Regions from separate parts of the Homo sapiens genome. Here region 1 is linked to region 2. Evidence: promoter capture Hi-C in human tissues and cell types (Jung and others, 2019). All regions are on one chromosome and are shown on one strand. Each heading gives the region's core, a stretch centred on a gene start or on the middle of the fragment in contact. The rest is flanking DNA. Distances are from core to core; before and after follow the strand shown. Region 1 overlaps SYNJ1 (synaptojanin 1). Region 2 holds the start of TMEM50B (transmembrane protein 50B).

Region 1 (5,802 bases), core at 2,836-5,335, 760 kb before region 2:
GTGGTGTGATCTTGGCTCACTGCAACCTCCACCTCCTGTGTTCAAGCGATTCTTCTGCCTCAGCCTCCAGAGTAGCTGGGACTACAGGCGCGCGCCACCATGCCCAGCTAATTTTTGTATTTTTAGTAGAAACGGGTTTCACCATGTTGGCCAGGATGGTCTCGATCTCTTGACCTCATGATCTGCCCACCTCAGCCTCCCAGAGTGCTGGGATTACAGGTGTGAGCCACCGCGCCCAGCAATGACTTATAATACTATGTCATGTGACATAACTGGCATTATTCAGCATTGTTGTATTACAACCTCGTTTCTCAAATTAGAATTTAAGGCAAATAATGAAGTATTAGGATCAAATATAAAAATTCAGATGAAGACATAATCATATACCTATTTCTTGATTTTCATGAGTTGTGGCTCTAAAAGAGAGGCTTGTTAAACATAACATAGTTGTCGCATGATAATCACACCTGCATTGCTAACTCCACATCTGAACAGAAAAGAAACAAAATTAACTTCTTATCCAAGAGCAATAGGTAACTTAAATGTCACTTTCATTTTACTTTAAAAGTATTTTCAGGATTAAATTTAAATGTAAATTTCTCCAACTTCTGATGGATTATAATAATTTAAGCTAAATAATAAAGCCATCCAAATGAAGGGCCTACTATCCAATGTCAACATTCTGCTGTGGGTCAAACCTTGCAGTCTGAGAATACACTGTTCTTCCCCAGCTGATACAGAAGACTAAGCTAAAGAAGGTCAATAACAATGTAAAAATAAGACTGCATGTTAGAATGATCTCTCTAGAACCACAATTTGCCTGTGGTTGCATGCACTGCAGTTTGTGGTGAGCTTATTTGCATGCAGACAGCACTTTGGTATAGAACCAGAGAACCTCCTGTATGAGGATCCTAGAGATCATGTAATCCAAGCTTCTCATTTTCAGAAGAAAAAGAGTAGAGATTAGATCATTCATCCAAGATCACATAACTAGCTGGCAGTAAAGCTTCTTTCCATTTCATCATATATAAAGAGAAAAATTATTTTAAAAGGAAAAGGTTTCTCTTACAAAAGTAATTAAAATTCCAGCTGAAAGATATTAAACTATCTAAATTAATGTCCTATTTAAACTTCACATTCCAATCTTGGTGACATTTAAGGAAAAAAAAAAAACTTTCATTCACGCAAGAAGTATTTATTGAATGCCTACCATGCACCAGGCCCCTGGCAAGGTTCTAGGAATAAAAACAGTCAGTACCGTGACACCTTCTTAGGAATCAGATTAGGAAGACAGGAATTATATAACCATACAAATGCAAAATTATAAATTATAGTAAGTACTATAATGGAGTTCTAACAGATTACAATGGGAGAACCTAATTTTAAATTGTTTGTTGGAGGAGGACAATGATTAGAATAAACCTCACTGAGGAAGTGACCTTTATAGTGAGACAGGAAGGCTAGCCAAATAAACGGTGGAGATAAAAATGTTTCAGGCGACATACGTATATACTGTGATCCAGCAATTCCATTCCTAAGAATACAGCCAACAGAAATGTGTACATATATGTACCAAAAAACATGTACAAGGATGTTCATACTTGTGTCATTTATAATAGCAAAATTGGAAATAAAGCAAATGTCAACAAAACAGCTAAATATTTTAATATTCATAAAATGGACTACACTGCAACAAATATGAGTAAACTACTGCCACTTGCTACAACATGGATGATTTCCCATATGTCAACATGGATGATTTCCCATATGTCAACATGGATGATTTCCCATATATCAACATGGATGATTTCCCATATGTCAACATGGATGATTTCCCATATGTCAACATGGATGATTTCCCATATATCAACATGGATGATTTCCCATATGTCAACATGGATGATTTCCCATATATCAACATGGATGATTTCCCATGTCAACATGGATGATTTCCCATATGTCAACATGGATGATTTCCCATATATCAACATGGATGATTTCCCATATGTCAACATGGATGATTTCCCATATGTCAACATGGATGATTTCCCATATGTCAACATGGATGATTTCCCATATGTCAACATGGATGATTTCCCATATGTCAACATGGATGATTTCCCATATATCAACATGGATGATTTCCCATATATCAACATAGATGATTTCCCATATGTCAACATGGATGATTTCCCATATGTCAACATGGATGATTTCCCATATGTCAACATGGATGATTTCCCATATGTCAACATGGATGATTTCCCATATATCAACATGGATGATTTCCCATATATCAACATGGATGATTTCCCATATATCAACATGGATGATTTCCCATATATCAACATGGATGATTTCCCATATGTCAACATGGATGATTTCCCATATGTCAACATGGATGATTTCATTGAGTGAAAGGAGCTAGATACCAAAGAATACACAGAGAATGACTCCATTTATGTTAAGCTGAAAAACACTTAAAACTATTCCATGATGTAAGAGGTCTGAATAGTGATTATCTTTGCAGATCATAATAAAGATAACTGGGAAGGAGCATGAGGGGATTATTCTCTGGAAAGCTCTCTGGTATGCTAGTAATAATATTCTATTTCTCAACCCAGTTGTGGTAATAAGGGTATGTTCATTCTATAATAATATATCAAGCTGTATGTTTAAGATTTATATACTTTTCTACATGTATTATAATTTAAAAAGCTTATTATTTTAAAAAAATACATTTGAGCAGACGGAACAGCATATGTAAAGACCCTGACGCCAGAAAGAATTTGGTACATTCAGAACTGAAAGGCGGCCAATGAGGTTAGAACATAGAAACCAAGAGGTAAAGTGGTAACAGGTTGAAGAGGGAAGCAGAAACTCGATTTTATTGTAGGTCATCTTAGAGTTTAGATTTTAACTTCAGTGGCCAATCACTGAAGAGTATTAGGCAGGGGATTAATAAGATCTAAACCATGTTTTTTAAAAGACTGGGGTGTAGGCGTGGTAAGTAGAAGCAGAGGGACCAGTTAAGGAGGGAATTGTAATGATCCATGAAAGAGACAACAGTGTCTTGATTGAAACAGAGCCAGCTAAATGCAGGCAGTTGCATGGAATCTCAAGGAAATTAAGAGGAGGAATTGACTAGACTTGGTAATAGAGAGAATGTGTGAAATGTGAGGGGAAGAGGTGTTGAGGATGATTCTTAAGTTGTTTGAAACAACTTGGTAGATGGAGTGCAATCCATTGACATAAGGGAGACTGAAGGAAAGATCAGGTTTGAGGATATGCAGTGGTTGGTAAGACCATCAATACGGTACCTATTCCAACTCTTCCTCATTTGGTAGCCACCAAACAGTTTGTGATACTATGGAAATCACAGAAATTTCTACCTTCTTCTGCCAATGATCTACCTGATGCAAACAGCACATGATATCTCAACAGTCATTTTTGGTTCAGGAATACACAAACACTCAATCCGGTGCAAGGGGAAGTGCATTTTCCTTTTGTGGGTTCTAACCCATTATCTGAGTTTCAAAAAGCTGGATCTCAATTGTGTCATCCAACATAATTATTCAACCCAGCTCTCATCAATCCTACGTCACTTTGCCACAACTAAAAATCTGAAAACTGTACTTTCTACTCCATTCTCTAAGAGAATTGATAAAACTGGGAACAAGATAGGCCAAAGATATATTCCCAATGCTAACCAAGGAAAGACAACTAATGAGCACTAAGGTACAACCAGCTAGAAATTTATTTAATTATAAGATTCTGGAATTTAAAAATAAAAACAAAAAGAGGCCGGGCACGGTGGCTCACGCCTGTAACCCCAGCATTTTGGGGAGCTGAGGCAGGTGGATCACTTGATGTCAGGAGTTCGAGACCAGCCTGGCCAGTAAGGTGAAACCTGTCTCTAATAAAGAGATACAAAAATCAGCTGGGCATGGTGGTGCACACCCATAATTTCAGCTACTCGGGATGCTGAGGCAGGAGAATCACCTGAACCCAGGAGGCTGAGGTTACAGTGAGCCAAGATCATGCCACTGCACTCCAGCCTGGGCAACAAAGTGAGACTCTGTCTCAAAAAAAAAAAAAATTGAAAAAAGAAGATTCATTCTACTTATAGTTCACACATGGTCCACAGGATATTAAATGATTTTGTTTATCTATATTTCAGCAACACATTCAAGAGATTACAGCAATCCTATGGTCCACTAGTGAACAGAATGAAACATAACTCATAATAAATATTTATTGCTAAGAGCTAGTTATATAAGTAAACACACCTTTATATATAAAAAGTTAAATAAGACTATAATGAAATAGAAACACAAAATTTTAATAAGTACATTTAACATATAGAAATATTTAATGTTTTGAGACAATAAAGTTTTTTTTTAATTTTTTTCTTTTCACTGACTCAGTTGGCCCAGAATTATCCAGGAATTTCAAGGGTCTAAAATTTTTTCATTCTGAACTGAGGAAGTAATGAGTATCCAACCAAGAAGAATTTATATATCTCTCCAAATGCCAAATTTATTTTCTCCAAGTGCCAAATCATTCATCATTTGGTTCAGTAGCTATGAAATGCAACCCAATGTGAATGCATGTGCTCACATACGTAACACTACTGATCAGCAATGGCTTATATTTATAAACTCTATTTAAGCTGGAAAAAGATAAAATACAAATTCTTATTAACAACCATTAAAACACTCAAAGCAAATTTTAATTGTCACCAGTAAAAATCATGCACAATTTTTAAAACTATACTTCCTTTTGATACTCTAACAAGGCTAAACAATTGCACTAGCCCATTCCACTCTTTATTGCTTCTTTCACTTTGTATGCTTCTTTCAAAATTTCACTGATTCAGACTTTATAATCTCAAAAGTTTTGAAAATGTTGGTATTGGATACTAAGAAAGGTAATACTACAATATTAAACTGCTAGTCATTATAATTAGCTCATATTTTTTCAACCTTCGAATGTCTGAAAAGTCTTTACATCTTCATTTGTGGTTGGGTACAAAACTCTAGGTGAATGGTTTGGTTTGGTTTCTTCCTTCCAGTACTTTAAAGATGTTCCCAATGTCCTCTGGCTTGGATTGCTTGCAAAGAAAAGTCTACTATCATTCTTATCTTCACTCTTCTGTAAATGTGTGTCTTTTCTTCCTTGGGCTACTTTTAAGATCTTCTCTGTATCACTGGTAAACAGTAACTTGATCATGTATTTGGGTATAGTGTTCTGCTTTATGTTCATTTAGCTTCTTGGATATGTGGATTCATAGCTTTCATGAAATTTGCAAAAGTGCCAGCTATTATTTCTTCAAGTGTTTTTCTTCCCTACCAACTTCTTTCTGGGATCCACATATTCATGTATATTGGGTCACCGGAAGTCGTCCTGCAGTTCACTGATGCTCTGTGTATTTATTTATTTTAGCCTTTTTTCTCTCTGTATTTTATTTTGGACAGTTTCTATTACTATGTCTTCAAGTTTGCCAATCATTTCTTCTACAATGTCTAATATAGTAATCCCTACCACATCTAGAAGTCTAATTTGGGTCTTTCACTTTTTTTTTTTTTAGAGACGGAGTCTTGCTCTGTTGCCCAGACTGGAATGCAATGGCATGCTCTTGGCTCACTGCAACCTCCAACTCCTGGGTTCAAGTAATTCTCCTGCCTCAGCCTCTCGAGTAGCTGGGATTACAGGTGCCTGCCACCACGCCCGGCTAATTTTGTATTTTTAGTAGAGATGGGATTTCACCATGTTGGCCAGGCTGGTCTTGAACACCTGACC
Region 2 (6,269 bases), core at 749-3,248:
ATACAAAAAATTAGCCGGGCGTGGTGGTGGGCGCCTGTAGTCCCAACTACTAGGGAGGCTGAGGCAGGAGAATGGCGTGAACCCAGGACGTGGAGCTTGCAGTGAGCCGAGATCTTGCCACTGCACTCCAGCCTGGGAGACAGAGCAAGACTCTGTCTCAAAAAATAAATAAATAAATAAATTTAAAAATAATAATAATACACTTTAAAAGGCCAGGCGCGGTGCCCACACCTGTAATCCCAGTACTTTCAGAGACCGAGGCAAGCGGATCACTTGAGGTCAGGAGTTCAAGACCAGCCTGGCCAACATGGTGAAACTCTCTCTCTACTAAGAATATAAAAATTAGCCAGGCATGGTGGCAGGCGCCTGTGATCCCAGCTACTCGGGAGGCTGAGGCTGTAAAATCCCTTTAACCCTAGAGGTGCAGGCTGCAGTGAGCAGAGATCGGGCCACTGTACTTGTAGCCTGGTCAACGAGGGAGACTCTGTCTCAAAAAAAACAGAAAAGGAAAATGAGGATAAAATACGATAAATTCTTTACCTTGGCCCCCAGAAGTGAATTCAGAATTCAGAAAAGACTAGCCAGTGTAAGGCTGCTGTAACCCTAGTTGACAGAGAGGAGGGATTGGGGTGGTGAGTGGGAAGGCTGTGTCTCCGGAAGAAGAAATATACGTCCCCACCTCACTCTAATTAAACCTGCTTTTCCAGCGCGATAAATATTCAAGATAACTTTTGGTTTGCATTTCAATAACAAAGTCTTGCACCACTATCTTCAGTTTAAAAAAAAAGTTTAATGTTTGCTCTACGTTTGAAATGCATGCAGGTTTAAAAGACAAGAAACAAAATGATGAAAAAGTGTGACCGGCCTGAGAGTTCAGAGCCTCTGAAGTGTCAAGGGATCCACAGTGCAGGTAGGATGAAGAGTCTGAGAAGGGAGATGGGATCCTCCGAAAAGAGAAAATCGGGTCTTACAGCGCGATGTAAGACGATGCGGATGCCACTTCCCTCCCACCCCGTCCCGTCCGAGGCCTCCGCCCCCTGCCCCTCCGCACCCCCCGACCCAGGCACGCGCAGCGGGGAGCAGCCCAGCCTAGCCCGTCTCACTGCTTTGGTTTTGAAAGGTCACGTATTTACCTTAGAATTTCAGCACCTTCCAACTTACTGTTTTAAGTACCTTTAACCAGCCTATTGGCTAAAAACCGAAACGGTCCTACCCGCGACTACCACTGCTCCAGTGACAATGCTCTGCTGCTACTTATTTAACGGAGCTCAAGGTTTATAATTCTCGAAAGAATGTTGTTCCCCTTCCCTTTCCCCTCCCGCCTCTGTACTTGACTCTCGTAAGAATGAAATCAGAAAAGTGCAGAAAACACAGGCTCCTAGCAATGGTTCGGGGCAAACGGGAGGGGCGAAGAAGGGCTGGAGCCGCCCCGGGGCCCTCGCTCCGGCCTCGGGAGGGCGTCGCGGCCGCAGCAGGGCGTCCCGAAAACCGTCGCCTCCGTGCCCGCCGCGCGAGAAGGTGAAAGGCACGAGATGGAGCCTCTCCAGCCCTCCCCAGGAACGCAACCTGACGGCGTGACAGCGCGGCAGGGCAGCCTCCCCGGGCTGCTTGCGGGTCGCGGCGGCGCCACGGTCACGGTCGGCCCGAAGGGACGCGGGCAGGGGCAAGAAGGGGCGGCGGGGGCTCCGCGGGCCCGAGTCTGCAGGCCGGCGCCGAACGCAGGGAAAACCCGGCTGGACGGCCCCACAGCCCCCAGAAGGCCGGGCCGGACAGGGCCCGACGAGGGAGCCTCCTTACGCGCGGGCGGCGGGCGCGAGCCCTCTACGGTTGCCTGGCGCCGGAGACCCACAGACAGGACTCACCCAGCTTCCTCAAACGCCCACGCCGACTTCAGGCGCGCGCGCAGGAAGGAGACTGCTGCGCCACAACCCTGCCGGCGTCCCGCGGCTCCACCTCAGCCCCGGGAGCCCGGAGCTGGGAGCAGACGCGAGGATAGAGCGCCGGTGAGGCGGGGCGAGGCGCCGTGTGCACCGCAGCGACCAATCGGAGCGCAGCAAGTGGCCGGCCGGGGGCGGGGCGGGACGCGAGGGGGCGGGGAGAGGGCGTTGGCTGGGCGCAGCGGGACGCCGGGCGCTCCTCGCGACCAATCGGCGTGCAGCAAGTGGCCGGCCGGGGGCAGGGCGAGCTCCGAGGGACGGGGTGGGCTGCTCTGCAGGCCTCCCGGAGCCGGAGTTCAGACCCAGCTATCTACGGTTCCGGGCAGAGCGGGACGGGCCTCTCCTGTCCCCTGCCGGTGGGCGGCCGCCGCCGGGCTCCCACTGCTGCGTTTCTGCACGCTGACTTGAAGTGCAGTACCGTGAGATTACGTGCGGACGGAGCTCGAGACCCGGGGGACCAGGGTTTCCCTTCGCCTATGGCCGATCAGTCTTGTCTGTCTGCGAGCTGCCCAGAGTAGGGAAGGTGCTCCGGGAGGGTTCTCGGGAACGGAGGGTCTTTAGAGATGCCTTTTTCTAATCCCCTCAATTCAGAAATGGAGCCCCAGAAAGTTGAAGTTAGTAAACCAGGGCTACCCAGCGAGTGCTGGTTACCCGAGGTGATCCTCACAATACAACTAGTCTTCTGATTTCGCTCGGCGCTCTCCCGTCTATTCACGTAGATTTTTGTCTTTTTTTTTTTTTTTCGTCTTTCTTATAGTCAGATATCTTTCAGCCTCTTGGATTTTCAACATAACTTTAACAGCGTTTGGAAGCCCCGTCTAAATTTCCTACAGAAATGCCTATAACCATTTAGTTGTTTGGGGGAAAGTCGAGCTTTGTTTTTTGGGTGGTTTGTTTGTTTGTTTTGAGACAGGGTCTTGCTCTGTTGTCCAGGGTGGAGTGCAGTGGTGTGATCTTGGCTCACTGCAGCCTCTTACCTCCCACGCTCAATCAATCCTCCCACCTCAGCCTTCCGAGTAGCTGGGATTACAGGTGCGCACCACCATGCTTGGCTAATTTGTGTATTTTTAGTAGAGACGGGATTTCACCTGGCTGATCCTGAACTCCTGACCTCAGGTGATCCACCCGCCTCTGCCTCCCAAAATGCTGGGATTACAAGCGTGGGCCACTGTGCCCAGCCAAGTAGAGTTATTATCAGTGGAAATCTAAAAAGCATTTTACTTGAGGCATAATGAAGTAAAAGGTTTTGTATCATGGAATTATCACCAAAAATGCCATCCTGGATAATGTTCTCCTATAGCTCTTATACATGGGCTAGGATCTAGGTGTTCAATAAATATGTGCTGAATAATTTACTTTTGAAATATGTCACAATGCTGGCATTCCACCAGAAGAGAGGATACAGAAGGGAACACTCTCCTCTCTTTAAGAACCTTTTGAAAGGGGCGGGGGTTGCATGTACCATTTTTGTTTTCATTCTGCTAGTAAAATAGTCACTTGACTACACCAAATTGCAAAGAAGGCTGGAAAATGGGGTTTCAGTACTAAGGAAGGAAAACTAGATATTAGGGGACAATTAGAAGTTTCCAAATCTCATCACTTTTTTTGGGGGGGTGGGGGAGGCATCCCAAAGGGCAGACTGGTTTATTAGGCAGCAGCCAGGAAAATCAGCGGTTGGACTTGTCCCCACACTCCAGCTCATCCTTCTTGTTGATGGCATAGGAGCTGGAGGAGGCCTTGGTGGCATTGATGAGCTCATCCGCCAGGCACTCAGCAATGGTCTTGATGTTCCAGAAGGCAGCCTCACGAGTGCCTGTGCACAGCAGCCAGACGACCTGATTCACACAGTGCAGTGGGGACATGTCCACAGCCTGTTGTCTCACAGTCCCTGCTCGCCCAATGCATGTGGAGTCCTCCCAGGGACCACTGTTGATGATGGCGTTCACCAGGACCTGGAGAGGGTTCTCGCCTGTGAGCAGGTGGATGAAATCGAAGGCATGCTTGATGATGCACATGATCATGAGCTTGTTGCTGTTGTTGCAGCCGTGCATCATCATGGAGTTAGTGAGGGGCTCCACAATGGGGCACTGAGCTTTGCGGAAGCATTTGGCTGCATACCACCCAGCACTGTGAGGCAGGTACTTGGCATACTTCTCCTTCACTGCAGTGTAATCCTGCAGGGAAATGCCATTGATCTGCATATCATCAGTGCTCCACTTCCCAGAGAGCTTGATGTCAAGGGGTCTCTGCCACTGCTGGTGCTGCTGTCTCCCACTCGGTCATCCTGAGGGCACAGCCTGAGTGTCTCTGTCGATCAGCATGGACCACATGCTGCCCTGGCACAGACAGGCCATTGCTTTTTAAAGTACTAATATTTTAAGGTTTCCCAGGATTTTTTTAAGCTTTGTTACAGAATAATATCTGTAGAAAAATGATTACCTCCATATATGAAGGAAGACATTACTGTTCACCTACCGTTGGGATGCACATGCTTTAAGTTGCTTTTTTAGTAGTGGAGACTTATGTTAATGCAGCTTGTCTGAAGTCCTTTTCTACTGCTATAACAGAATAACACAGAACAGGCAATTTATAAACAATAGTGTTTTATTTGGTCCACAGTTCTGGAAGCCGGGAACTCCAAGAGCATGGTGCTGGCATCTTGTAAGGATTTTCATGCTGTGTCATCCCATGGTAGAAAACAAGACAGACAGGGGCCAACGAGCATACAAGACAGAAGGAGAAAATCAGGCTGACGCTATCCTTTTACCAAGAGCCCAATCCCAAGATAACTAACCCACTCCCACAATAACAGCATTAATCCATTCGTGAGGGTGGAGCCCTCATGACCCAATCACATCTTCAAGGTTCTACCTCTCAACACGATTACAATAGTAATTAAGTTTCAAACACATGAACTTTTTGGGGACACATTCAAACCATAGCACAATTTGCTTCTCTCAGTCTATAAACCTCTATTCCACAAAGAGTCAAACATGTATTTAGTTATGCTTTCAAAAATATGGGCATTTGGCCGAGCACAGTGCCTCACACCTGTAATCCCAGCACTTTGGGAACCAGAGGCGGTTGGATCACCTGAGGTCAGGAGTTCCAGATCAGCCTGGTCAACATGGTAAAATTCCGTCTCAACTAAAAAGAAAAAACAATTAGCTGGGCATGGTGATACATGCCTGTAATCCCAACTACTCAGGAGGCTGAGGCAGGAGAATCACTTGAATCCGAGAGGCAGAGGTTGCAGTGAGCCAAGATCACGCCACTGCACTCCAGCCTGGGCGACAGAACAAGACTCCGTCTCAAAAAAAAAAAAAAAAAAGGCATTTGAAAGATACGGGGATTAAGTTGCTGATGTCAACATTTCGCTGTCAATTCCAAATGTACTGATTTAAGTATTTAGTAGAATTGTAAATCAGCCTTTAAAAAAAAAAACCACACATGGCCGGGTGCGGTGGCTCAAGCCTGTAATCCCAGCACTTTGGGAGGCCGAGGCGGACAGACCATGAGGTCAGGCATTCGAGACCAGCCTGGCAAACATGGTGAAACCCCGTCTCTACTAAAAATACAAAAATTAGCCAGGCATGGTGGCGCTCACCTGTAATCGCAGCTACTCAAGAGGCTGAAGCAGGAGAATCGCTTGAATCTGGGAGTCAGAGCTTGCAGTGAGCCGAGATTGCACCACTGCACTCCAGCCTGGGCGACAGAGTGAGACTAAGTCTCAAAAAAAAAAAAAAAAAACCACACATTTTCTAATTCAATTGGTATTCTACCATGTAGCTACTGAAGCATATGTTTTGTTAAATTCCTGTTACCCAAGCACTTCAGAGAGGCACTCCTAGATTCTGGAGACATTGTGACTTCAGGACCATTTTCAGGTTTGGGCCAGGACAGGTTCTGAAAGATCTACTTCACCTAAAACTAGACAGAAAATGCAGTCCAGTTGGTACAAGCCTATTAAGAGAAAGGAACAATCCAGGCTGTCCTTCACGCTACGCCCCATGGGTTCTAGTTTATTCTCTCTCAGGGCTGCTTCATGAACTTACTCTGATAGAGTGGTATTCACGTCCATCTTTTGAGTGTACAAGCCAAATGTGTACCACAGGAACTATCTGAAAGGCTAAAACATGTTGCATAAACAGGTACTTCCCAAAATATTCTCTTTCTCCATATGCTTATGTGGTTGTATAACAAAAAGATTCATCTGAATAAGTCTTAGGCAGCTATTAGAACTGTTGTATTTTGATAAAGGTGTCTTGAGACTAAGGTCATACTTCCTGTGGGTCTGAAATGGACTCTCTCCTGAAAGGATGGCTATTCAGT

What was found. Contacts are between HindIII fragments. The study calls those that stand out against the background at their distance.
Region 1: a contact is called between a fragment that was not itself captured here and the fragment with the promoter of TMEM50B in region 2, in 1 of the 25 tissues and cell types used here (dorsolateral prefrontal cortex).

The regions. Positions count from the first base shown.
Region 1 is chr21:32,711,389-32,717,190 of GRCh38, forward strand. The region is part of intron 2 of SYNJ1 (synaptojanin 1); the gene reads right to left. Among named protein-coding and RNA genes, the nearest start is that of SYNJ1, 14 kb to the right of the region's middle. The HindIII fragment of the contact is 4,447 bases long and covers 1,863-5,802 here.
Region 2 is chr21:33,477,976-33,484,244 of GRCh38, forward strand. TMEM50B (transmembrane protein 50B) reads right to left here and starts at 1,999. Exons shown (of 7, transcript NM_006134.7): 1 at 1,863-1,999. It also overlaps the pseudogene RPS5P3. The HindIII fragment of the contact is 12,756 bases long and covers 1-6,269 here.